Regions from separate parts of the Homo sapiens genome. Here region 2 is linked to region 1. Evidence: promoter capture Hi-C in 16 types of primary human blood cells and fetal thymus (Javierre and others, 2016). All regions are on one chromosome and are shown on one strand. The core of a region is centred on a gene start or on the middle of the fragment in contact, and the rest is flanking DNA. Distances in the headings are between cores, read along the strand shown. Region 1 holds the start of TRIM68 (tripartite motif containing 68). Region 2 overlaps TRIM6 (tripartite motif containing 6).

Region 1 (6,361 bases), core at 1,548-4,047:
ATTTAAAGAACTTGAATTAGACATCAAATACAAGGACATATAAAGCTACTTCTTCTTGTTTTAATCTAATGCAACTCTGATATCAAAACTAATAACAGCATTTGGCTTGTTCTGCTTCCCACTGTACAAAAGTCTTACTGTTAGTTGTGTGTCACTATTAACAATTGCTATTGTAATATACATCTATATTCTGATATATACCTTTTTATTTAGTTATTTATGTCTCTCTGTCTCATGCACACACACACACACACACACACACACATATGCTGCCATTTTCCTGTCCATGGCATCTCACACTGAAACTGCCCCACCACATCCTTGCTAGATCTTCCTATTACTGTTCCTTTCGTCTGCTTCTGAAATTGTTCTCTCTTTTCTACTTCCTGCTTCTTAATTTTTTGGAACACTTAAACTCTAATATAAAATCTAGGTGACAGCCTCAACCCAGAAGCACTTTCAGAAAGGCTCTCCACCACCTGTAGACAGAATTCTATGTTTTAATTTCTAGACTCACTTCCCCTTCCATCCCTGACCTCCTTCCTCTGCCAAAGTGAAAGTGGTAACGAAGTCCTGCAGATTTTCCCCTCTAGGCAGGAATTTCCTCTCTCTTAGCCAAGGCTAGCACTGAGTAGATAGGGACGGGAGGCCCTAATCTCCTACTTGGACTCCTGGGAGATGTCAGTTTTGCCTTCTGGAAACTGAAAACAATCTGGAATAGAGGAAACAGGAGGTATTAACTCCATCATAAGAGGTCCAGTAGGAGACTTTCAAGGTGGAGCGGGGTATCTACTCATGGTCTAGGCTATACTCCTACCCTCCTCCTTCCACCCCTAGCAGGTTCTCCTGCTGACTGACACACCACTAACACAGACAGCTATTTCTTCCCCTTTAAAGCCTTCAAGACTAAGATTATATTCTCATCAAGCCTAAGATTATACAAAACTAACTGAGGGTGTGGCTCATGCTTCCTCAGAAAGAGTAAGAGAAGAAAATAAATTAGGGGTCTCTAAGCAAGCATGTTGTATGACATGCAATAAGGTCAGTCTCTGGTCTCTTTCCAGAAAACCAGGCCTCAGATTTGTACTAACCCCCTAACTCTTCCTTAGTCCTACTTCTTCAGTGCCCCAAACAGTTCTCAGTTCTTGCTTCTCCTTTGATGCTACTCCTCCCCTAGAGCACAGATGGACACCATCCTACAGTTAGCCACTCATCTTGTTGTCCTGGTCTATCCTGGATTCAGGGCAGAGGGTTGGGGTCTGCAGCTACAGCTGTGGAATTTGTCCACGACAGAGCCTCACCTGGACACACCTGTCTCACAGCAAACAAATAAAGAAACAAACAAAACATTCTGAAGACATCTGTAAAGGAAAGCTTCTATGCCTTGGAAGTAAACTGGTCTGTCTTCAAAAGCCCTCTCTCCAGCCTTCCCCACATGAACGCAAGCCCCCACCCCCAGCTACCCTGATTGCCAGGGTTCTTGACAGTCCGTCATAGTTACAAATTGCACCTTACACATGAAAATGATCTCCCCATTAACTGTTTTAACTTCACAGAGATTCCAGAGCAGTACAACCAACTTGACCTTCAGCTCCTTAAAGGCAGAGACTATATGTCCCATAGTTGTAATCCCAGCACCCAGTAAAATATTGTCAAGAAAATTGATGTTAAATAAATGTTTAAAATGGCTTATTTCAATTAATCCATTCATTATTCTATTAGAGCAGCCATTTCTCCAAAACTGGGTGAGACAGAGGGTACAGCTCAGACCTAAGATACTTTTGTTTTTTCTCATAGACCTATTTGTTGCAGGAAATTTCTGGGCCTCACCCTTCAGAATTTTAACCATGGCCGGGGCTCAGACACTGGCATGAGCATTCTGGAGTATCTGTCCTAACAATTAAGATATTATATAATTTGGAACCGAGCTTCAATTGGAAGATTTCCTGGTTATTTTCTATGCGGATAGGAGGTGCCTTCACTTGCTTATTAAAACCTAAGTGTCAAGAGAAGGACAAGGCCCTGGGAGTACAAAGAAAAACCCATATCACTGTCTTAAGTAACAGTTTTTGTGTGTGCGTGCATGTGTCTATGTGTTTGGGTGAGGAAGGGATACCAGTTGTTTAATTTTTTTTTCCTTTTTTAATGACAATTTTTGACCAGGGTTTCCATTTCTCCATCAACTCCCGGTCTCTGTTGTCTGTTTTTCACTCTAAAAGTGGATTGTGGCAATAGTGATGACAAGCTGGTTGCTGAAGTAAAAACGAAAAAAGAGAGGGTTTTGTTTTGTTTTGTTTTGTTTTGTTTAAGAACCCAGTATTTAAAGCCTGGAACCATGAGAGGTCGCGAATCTTGCCAGGAACAGCAGAGTCCACACCATATGTGCGCCCAACCCTTTGCTAAGATGGGTCACAGAACCAGACTTGGCCAATCTCAGGCTTCTGAGTTTAACAAGTCAAACTGGCAAATGAATAGCCACCTGAGCCTCTCTTAATGCAGTGCCTGAGCGGCATCATTTGGGAGCCTCAATCCTTTGACCTATCCTAGAACTAACTCCTAGAACCCTCTACAGTTTAAGGGAATCTGAGTCGGTGAAGGGACCAGAAAAACCCAGGAAGTAGAGAAAAAACATTGACATGCCTAGAAGCGCCGAAACCCCCGTCTCATCACCAATTGGCTAGGGGTACCCTGGTCCCTGCCTGTGATTGGCTGCCCCCACAAACACACCGCCCCCTGGGCGAAGCCAACCTGGGCCCAGCCGGCCGCTCATTGGCTGCCGTCCCGCGAGCGGGGCCTAGAGCCGGGTGTAGTATTCTGGGAGCTGCGGGCTACTGGGCCTGCGCTGCCGGGCTTTGGGTTCTGGGCCTCTGCCGCTCTCTGGCCCTAAGTGCTGAGCTGCCGGGAACGGCAGCTTCTGACGCTGGGCCATTGGACGCTGCGGAACCAGGCTTCTTCACTTTGAGTTTCCGCCGCGAAGCGCCAGTCCGGGCCGAGGAGGGAGGTGGGTAGATAACTCTGCCTTTTCTGAAGTCAGATCCCGCACGCTCACTTTACCCCCACCCGCCCGCTGTCCTGGGGACCTGCCCAACGCCCTGTGGCCAGGCCAGGAGCTGCTCCCTGACTCCGGAGGTTACCGCCCGCCCCTCGACTCCCTTCCCGCTGGGGTCCTAACTGGAAGTCTTCCAGGCCCCGCCCCCTTCTCAAATGCCCTTCTCAGACTCTCGCTGTACCCTACGGAAGGCACAGTCAAAGCAACCGAACGTTTAATTATTTGAATTTTCTCAAAGTAATTCATGTATAATAAAAAGTCAAACATTAAAGCAGGTCTTATTTTGAAGAGCAGTAACTACCCATCCCCAGATCTTTGCAGAGGCTGCCACTTTTAGTTTGTCCCCATTTAGATGTTTTTAGCACCCTAAATCAAAATAATATGCGTTCCACTGTATTTCTGGATTTATCATTTTGATATTTCTTTGCCTTACTTTCTTACTGCCACAATCTTGTCAATTTTCCATCGCTATTTTAGGTCTTCCATTTGTAGCTTTAAATAATGGGTATCAACTTCCATTTATTGTTTTATTGACTTTAGATGGTGTCTCTTAATGTCTCTACTGACTTAGCTAAGGATATTAACACATCCTCCACTTTCAATCTACTATCGGTTGGAACTCAACATTTACATTTAGTTTTCACGTATTCAACAAGTATTTGAGGCACTGTTCTTGGCACTGGGGAAATAGAAATGGACAAAACAGACAATGACCCTATCCACATGAAAAAGTTCTAGTATGGGAAGTAAGACAATAGACGAATACATGGCAAATGACGTCAAAGGCAGGATCATGTAGAAGTCATTTTCAGCTGGGAGAATAGCAGGCACCCAAGTCAGGTAGATTGAATGGACGAGGGGTTTGCGGGAGTGTGTGGAAGTTTATTCCTTTGCCTAGCTGGGCACAGGTGCTGTTTCAAGGAGAGATCTTGTTAACCGGGAGCCAGGATAGATTATTTAGTAAGTTAGTGATTTACCAAAATGAGGTTTTAGGATACTGGATCCCACAGTTTGGTAGTGATAGTGGGAGGAAGAAAAGCAGGAGGCAGGGAGTCTAGTGAGAAGGCATGCCCTGCCAATGGCATATCAGAGTCCTGCAAGATTTACTGCTCTGCTTCCTGCTTCCTGCTACTGGACTGCGCTAAACCACAGTGATTTTTCTCTCCTCTTGAATTTGTATTATACCTTAAAGCTAAAGAGGTTAAGAAATTTGCCCAAGATAGATGGCAGAGCCCCAAGCCAAACATCTGTAAAATGAGAACAATAATGGCCTCTGCCTAGGGTTGTGAAATAAACCAACTTAATTCATGTAAAGTGCTCAGAACAGTGCCTGGCACATCATAGAACTGCTCAAAGAGTGCTTGCTTTTATTATTAATGTATGCTCTCAATTTACCTCACAAATGCTAAAAGGATTTTGGGTTTAGGAACTATTTCCTATGTCTAGCTGGTTAATTCATTCAACAAATATTTACTCAGCAATATCTGCATTGCAGGTGCTGTTTAGGTGCTGAGGATACAACAGGAACTAGGATCAACATGTCCCTTCCTTGTATAGATTCTAGCTGGTAACACAAACTAGCAAAGTGAATGAATAAATATTGCCAACTGAGCCAAGAGCCTGCCATTGACCAAGTTCCATGCCCATATGTGGCCCTGGCAAAAATCTCAGATTTCTTGCTGGTGTAGTGATTTCATCAATATGGGTGTGATGATCATCAAATGATCTTTGTTTTAATCTCCAAGGGATGTTATTTCATCTCTGCTTCTAGCATATCACTAAAAGCTCAGAAGACTACCTTGACATCTTGGTGAATAATAAGTACATTAGTGCTGGAGCAGTGGGCAGGGGTTTAAAAGGCACAGGAAAAGAACTGCTGTTTCCTTTACAGTTTTTGCATTTTAGTGTGCAACACAAGAAAACAAATTGAGCTTGTAGGCAATGGGCTTCTGGCATACTACCTTTTGACACTTTGAATTATATTAATGTAAATATAAACATACCAGAGAGTGAGGCTGGAGGTATTTATGGCCTTACTTCAGATACTGAAATACCACATTTTATGTGAACTTACCCAAGTTTAAGAGAAATAATGCTGATTTGTAGAGCATGATTGGAGTGGTAATGGTCAAGTAGAGCAAACCCAGAGGAAAATCAGAGTTGACCAAGTGAATGAAAACCGAGGACTCCCAATATTCACTCACTTAGGCATCCCCATTATCCCCTTCATGGTATGAGTAATGTGGCCCGTTCAGACCATGCACCCTTCAGTTGGAAAGGCCAATGCTTATTAAAGAAGGTCAGTAAAGGGTCAAAAGGAAGGTGGTTTTCCCCCAGAAATTAATTATTCCTGTTACTGATCTCTCTGTTCCTCTGTTACCTTTTTCTCTTATTTGTCTTTCTTTTCTTCTTCTCAGCCTTTACTACTTCTCCCTGGTTTCATTCATGTTCTGAGGAGGGTGTGAGAAGGAACCATGGATCCCACAGCCTTGGTGGAAGCCATTGTGGAAGAAGTGGCCTGTCCCATCTGTATGACCTTCCTGAGGGAGCCCATGAGCATTGACTGTGGCCACAGCTTCTGCCACAGCTGTCTCTCTGGACTCTGGGAGATCCCAGGAGAATCCCAGAACTGGGGTTACACCTGTCCCCTCTGTCGAGCTCCTGTCCAGCCAAGGAACCTGCGGCCTAATTGGCAGCTGGCCAATGTTGTAGAAAAAGTCCGTCTGCTAAGGCTACATCCAGGAATGGGGCTGAAGGGTGACCTGTGTGAGCGCCATGGGGAAAAGCTGAAGATGTTCTGCAAAGAGGATGTCTTGATAATGTGTGAGGCCTGCAGCCAGTCCCCAGAGCATGAGGCCCACAGTGTTGTGCCAATGGAGGATGTTGCCTGGGAGTACAAGGTGAGAGATGGAAGCTGGCCACTCCAGTCTAACCCCGGCCCCAAGTTGGCTGTTTCTAGATCAAGGGCTTGACCACCAGCACCACAGACTGAGAGCTAACTCCTTTGGTTCCTGACACCCAGAGATCCCTGGAATCTGATACAGAGAGCTATACCTTTCCTTGTATTCATGACCTTCCTTGATTTCCTGCTCTCCCACTTCCTCTACACCTACATCCTAACAGGGCTCAATTCCTAACCCAAGGCTGATTTCAGTAATGAGAATGTGAAGGAAAACAGTTTGGGTTTTAACTGAGATTCTGGATGCCTTGGATGAGTTTAGGCATGAGGCTCTTATATAGATGGTCAAGGCTACACCTGACCTGCAAACTCCTCCTAGCAGTGCTGCAAGTAGTCATTTGGCATTGAATGGA
Region 2 (4,566 bases), core at 1,999-4,498, 990 kb before region 1:
GGATTACAAGCGTGAGCCACTGCGCCCAGCCTGGGGAGGTAATATTTTTACAACTCATGATTCTGTAACCAGTTGTGATTTAGAAATCACATTCTCTTGCTTTCTTTATCCCTCATGGACAACTCTGCATAAATAAGAGTATTCTCCATTCTTTAATAAGAAGAGACATTAAGTGACTTTACACAATCATGCACCTTGTAAGTTGTAGAATTGGCATAACCTAACCTTTCCAGGGTGCTAGTTCAAAGCTTCGTCCTCAAACTCATAACTTTGACCAAAGACAGTCAGTGGTAAAGGCTGTGAAAGTCAGGCATGGACCAAGTGCTTTCGAAGTATGGAAATGAGAGAGATCCTATTTGATGATGGGATTTTGCCAGGGCCTGTCTTAAACTTCAGCAGGATCCTAAGGGGGTCCATATGTAAGGAGAGGTGGCCGGTAAGGCAGTTGAGACCTTATATCTTCATTGAGAAATATGACCTTTATTGTCTATTTTTCTTGGAAGAGTTGTTGATAAATTACGTTACCATTGTTTAAAATCACACTGAGAATACTCTTTAGAAAATTTTTAAAACTGTTTCCAGCACTGAGTTATTTTCACTGGGAGCCATTTGTTCTGCTTGTCTACCTGGAGTTGTGTTTGGGCCACCAAAGAAGAGCCAGCTAACACTGCCTATGTGAAGCTCTGGCCCTGGTTCCAGGCGTGACCTCGCTGTTCTGAACAGGCCACAGTGCGTAGGGAGCAGGCAGAATTCTCTAACTTGTCTTTGGCTGGTTTCCCAGCAAAAGTAAATGTACACTGATGTAAAAAACAGTCCGTGTGGGCCTCAACACAAGGCCCTGTAAATTGTACCAATTTACCCCCATCTTGAGGACCTGGTGGATTTAAAAAGTATATCAAACTGCCTCCCAATAACAACACTCCCCTTAGAAGAAAGGGCCTGAGAAAGTGTCTCAGATAAGGGTAAGAAAAAGTCATGGGATGTAAGCATAAGCCTCCTAGCGGCCCTGCTGGGGGATCTAGCGAGCCGAAAACAGGTTCTTGGCGCTGCCATCTAGTGTTCTGTGGTGCTTCTGCAAGTACTAGCCTGGCTCTTCAGCTTTGCCATGCTTAGCAGCAGCGATGCTCACAGCAAATATCTACAGAAAGCCCATTAGGTATTCAGCAAGAATTTAATTATTTTGTACATAATAACTCAATAATTCCACATAACAACATTATGAATGTCCCTTAAATCTCATCTCATAGTTGTATAAACTGGTATTTAGTAGATCTTTCAAGTGGCGGGGCCGGTGTTGAATGCAGATACGCAGGCTGCAGAGCTGGAGCTCTTATTACTCCCTTATATTCCTCATCTCCATAAAGGGTGCAAAATATAATTAACAAATTAATGAACTCTGTGCATCTAACTGGTAGTACTAATTGGTGTTACAGACGTATTTACCTATCATCTGAGAGTCTGTTTAACCAAATTAATCACACCTGTGGGAACTGCACTATTATTTCCTTTGTTAATATCTCCTACCATACCCACATCATCTCACTTAGCACACTGCACTATAAGGCTCTATTGCCTTTGATAATAGAGGCAATAGAGGCTCTAGAGGCAATAGAGGCTCTATTTATCTTCCAGGTGCCCCAGACCTTAGCACTGCAGCTAACACAGGAAATGATCAATTAACTTTATAATGGATTGAAAATTATAGCTTACTGCTGAGCTTATAGTTGGCCTTGATGTTGGCACTAGAGTATAGAAATAAATGTGCTATCTTATCAAAGTGTTACTGTTAAAAAATAATTGTGTTGGCCGGGCGCGGTGGCCCAAGCCTGTAATCCCAGCACTTTGGGAGGCTGAGGCAGGCGGATCACAAGGTCAGGAGATCGAGACCATCCTGGCTAACACGGTGAAACCCTGTCTCTACTAAAAATACAAAAATTTAGCTGGGTGTAGTGGCGGATGCCTGTAGTCCCAGCTACTCGGGAGGCTGAGGCAGGAGAATGGCGTGAACCCGGAAGGTGGAGCTTGCAGTGAGTCGAGATCGTGCCACTGCACTCCAGCCTGGGCGACAGAGCGAGACTCCGTCTCAAAATAAATAAATAAATAAATAAATAAATAAATAAATATAATAATTGTATTGGTATTATATTTTAATTGAAAGTCCAATTCCAATTCATCCTCCCCAACAAACACATGCACACTTTCATTTCAGGCAAAACTGTATTTAGCGTACCCAATTCTCTTGAAGGAGAACTACTGCCTCATAAATGCAATGTAGTAATAGTCCCAAACTGAAAAGAATCCATGACATCACTAACTGGTAAATGAACAAACTGTGGTGTATCCATACAGTGGCATATTACCAAACAATTAAACTGTTAATATATACAACAAGATAAATCTCAAAAGCATGCAAAGTGAAAGAACCCAAACATCAAATTTAAGTTATTGTATGATGCTATTTATGTGAAATCCTAGAAAAGAGAAAGCTATGGTATTTGAAAGTACATCAGTGGAAGCCAGGGCCCAGGAGTGGGAGAAAAGTTTGAACTGCAAAGGGCATAAGGAAATTTGAAGGGTGAATACATAAAGGGAAATGCCCTTTATGTATCATGATCATGGTGGTGGTTACACAGCTGACTGCAACTGTGAAAATTCACAGAACTGTATGCTTACAATTTGTAACTTACTAGATAGAACTCAATAAACTGACAGAAACAAAAAAATACAAGAAAAATTAAAAGCTTGGTTTCTGATCTTCTAAGCATAATGGAACTGTGTTGTCAAACATGTAGCCAGATATGGCTCTTGAGCATTTGAAGTGTGGCTACTCAGAAATGGGTTGCTTTAGGTACAAAATACACATTGGATTTTGAAGATTTAGTTTAAAAAAGTTAAAGGATCTTATTAATTTTTTTATGTTGATCACATGTCCTAATTGTATTTTGCATGTATTGGGTTAAATGAAATGTATTAAAATTAATTTCACCCGCTTATTTTTAATGAGGCTACTTGAGTATGTAACATTACATATGTGGCTTCATTCTATTTCTAGTTCATTATATGTCTTTTTCCTATCTAATATGCGCTGTAGATATTCATCTAATACTCTCTTTAGACAGAGAAAAATTCTTGAGCAGAAAAAAGATTTGTAAGAGTTGAGGTCTCTTGTCAAAGCTGAGGCTTGGGAAAGAAATTGTGAAGGAGGGGAGCATACAGTTAGCATAGGTGACCCTTGCCCACACACCAGCAAGCCCTGACTGCCCACTGCAGCTAAGTGCAGCCCAAGGGAGATATGGGAGGCTGCCAGTTTCCAACTGAGGCCAAGTCTCCAGAGCAGTGTGGACGGGCTGAGAGAAGGCATTCTGACTGTGAGGAGTGCAGACGAGAAGAGCCTGCAGTCCCAGAGCCCAGTGCATCAAATTAGCAGAAGAAAGAGCCCAAATTCACAACCAGGTGGGACCAATTAAATCAGAACCAGACGCCTGAAAAAGGTCTGCTAACTAGCAACACTGCAAGCACTTGGAGTTCTTTATGCAGAATCTCAGTCTTTCCTGGAATGATTCAGAATCTGCACTTTAATATTAAAGTTCTCTAGGTGATTCTTACGCACATTAAGGCTTCAGAAGCACTGCCTTAGATAAAGGACCTTCTTTCCCAGGTGGATACAATTTAGGGTGCAAAACAGCTAGAAGAGGGAGGGGGACAGAGAATGGCCTGCTATTTAGATACGAAGCATCTTTTAGAATGGAAGCTTGCATCGATATCAAAATGGCTTTCAGAATAAAAATCAGTGACTCAGCAGGGGATACTGGGGCTGGTGTAGGCTGGGGGTTCAGAGTTAGGAATGACAGAGCGGGCCCGTCCACCAGCTGGGAGCCCTAGTGAAAGTGGAATAAAATAGGTGGCAGTTGCATTTATAAGTGAGTTGGGCATGAGTTCTTGCACTTTAGGAATAACATTTTTTTTTATCTTTGTGTAGGGTTATATTTAACCTATTATCTGCAATTGATTATCTAACAGGACTCAATAAATATTTGAATTGGAACATAATCAGTTTCAAAACAAAAAATTTAATTTCCACTTCAAAAGAATTTCTACCCCCTGCATTTCAGAAACCTATAATTTAAAAATTGTTTTGATTGTGCATTTTTTTAAAGCTAGGCATGGAGTTTGCCAGTAATAATGACCATAATTTGTGTCAGGCAGCCTCCTACGTGTTTAAATCTGTCTCACTCAATCCTCACCAAAACTCTAAGATATACATATTACTCCGTCCATCTTATAGATGGAAGAAACTAAAGCTCAAAGAAGTCAAGTTAACAGTCTTCGGGCACACAGCCAGTGTCTGTCAGAGTCAGGATTTGAACACATGCAGTCTGGCTGCGGCATCTATGCTCCTAACCACACATTTCTGTCTCTATTGACTGACTGATTAAAATGTCTCTAACCTCAGTGGGGTCATTTGCAGTGAGAAAGAAAAAGAAATAAAGATATAATGAGTTCCGAAAGGGAAAGGACCTTATCTCTTTCACTGCCCTGTCACCTCTGCCAGAAGTGACAATAAGA

What was found. The method cuts DNA at HindIII sites, captures the fragments that hold promoters and counts their contacts. A CHiCAGO score of 5 or more calls a contact.
Region 2: a fragment that was not itself captured here is called in contact with the fragment with the promoter of TRIM68 in region 1 in 1 of 17 cell types (activated CD4 T cells); the score reaches 5.2 in activated CD4 T cells.

What each region holds. Positions count from the first base shown.
Region 1 is chr11:4,604,667-4,611,027 of GRCh38, reverse strand. TRIM68 (tripartite motif containing 68) reads left to right here and starts at 2,797. Exons shown (of 7, transcript NM_018073.8): 1 at 2,797-3,001; 2 at 5,467-5,949. The coding sequence starts at 5,524. RefSeq lists silencers at 2,633-2,842, 3,153-3,232. The HindIII fragment of the contact is 6,370 bases long and covers 1,377-6,361 here.
Region 2 is chr11:5,596,941-5,601,506 of GRCh38, reverse strand. The region is part of intron 1 of TRIM6 (tripartite motif containing 6); the gene reads right to left. All of the region lies in intron 1 of TRIM6-TRIM34 (TRIM6-TRIM34 readthrough), which reads right to left. It also overlaps a transcript of TRIM5 not described here. Among named protein-coding and RNA genes, the nearest start is that of TRIM6-TRIM34, 2.6 kb to the right of the region's middle. RefSeq lists enhancers at 854-1,148, 4,182-4,566. The HindIII fragment of the contact is 1,010 bases long and covers 2,744-3,753 here.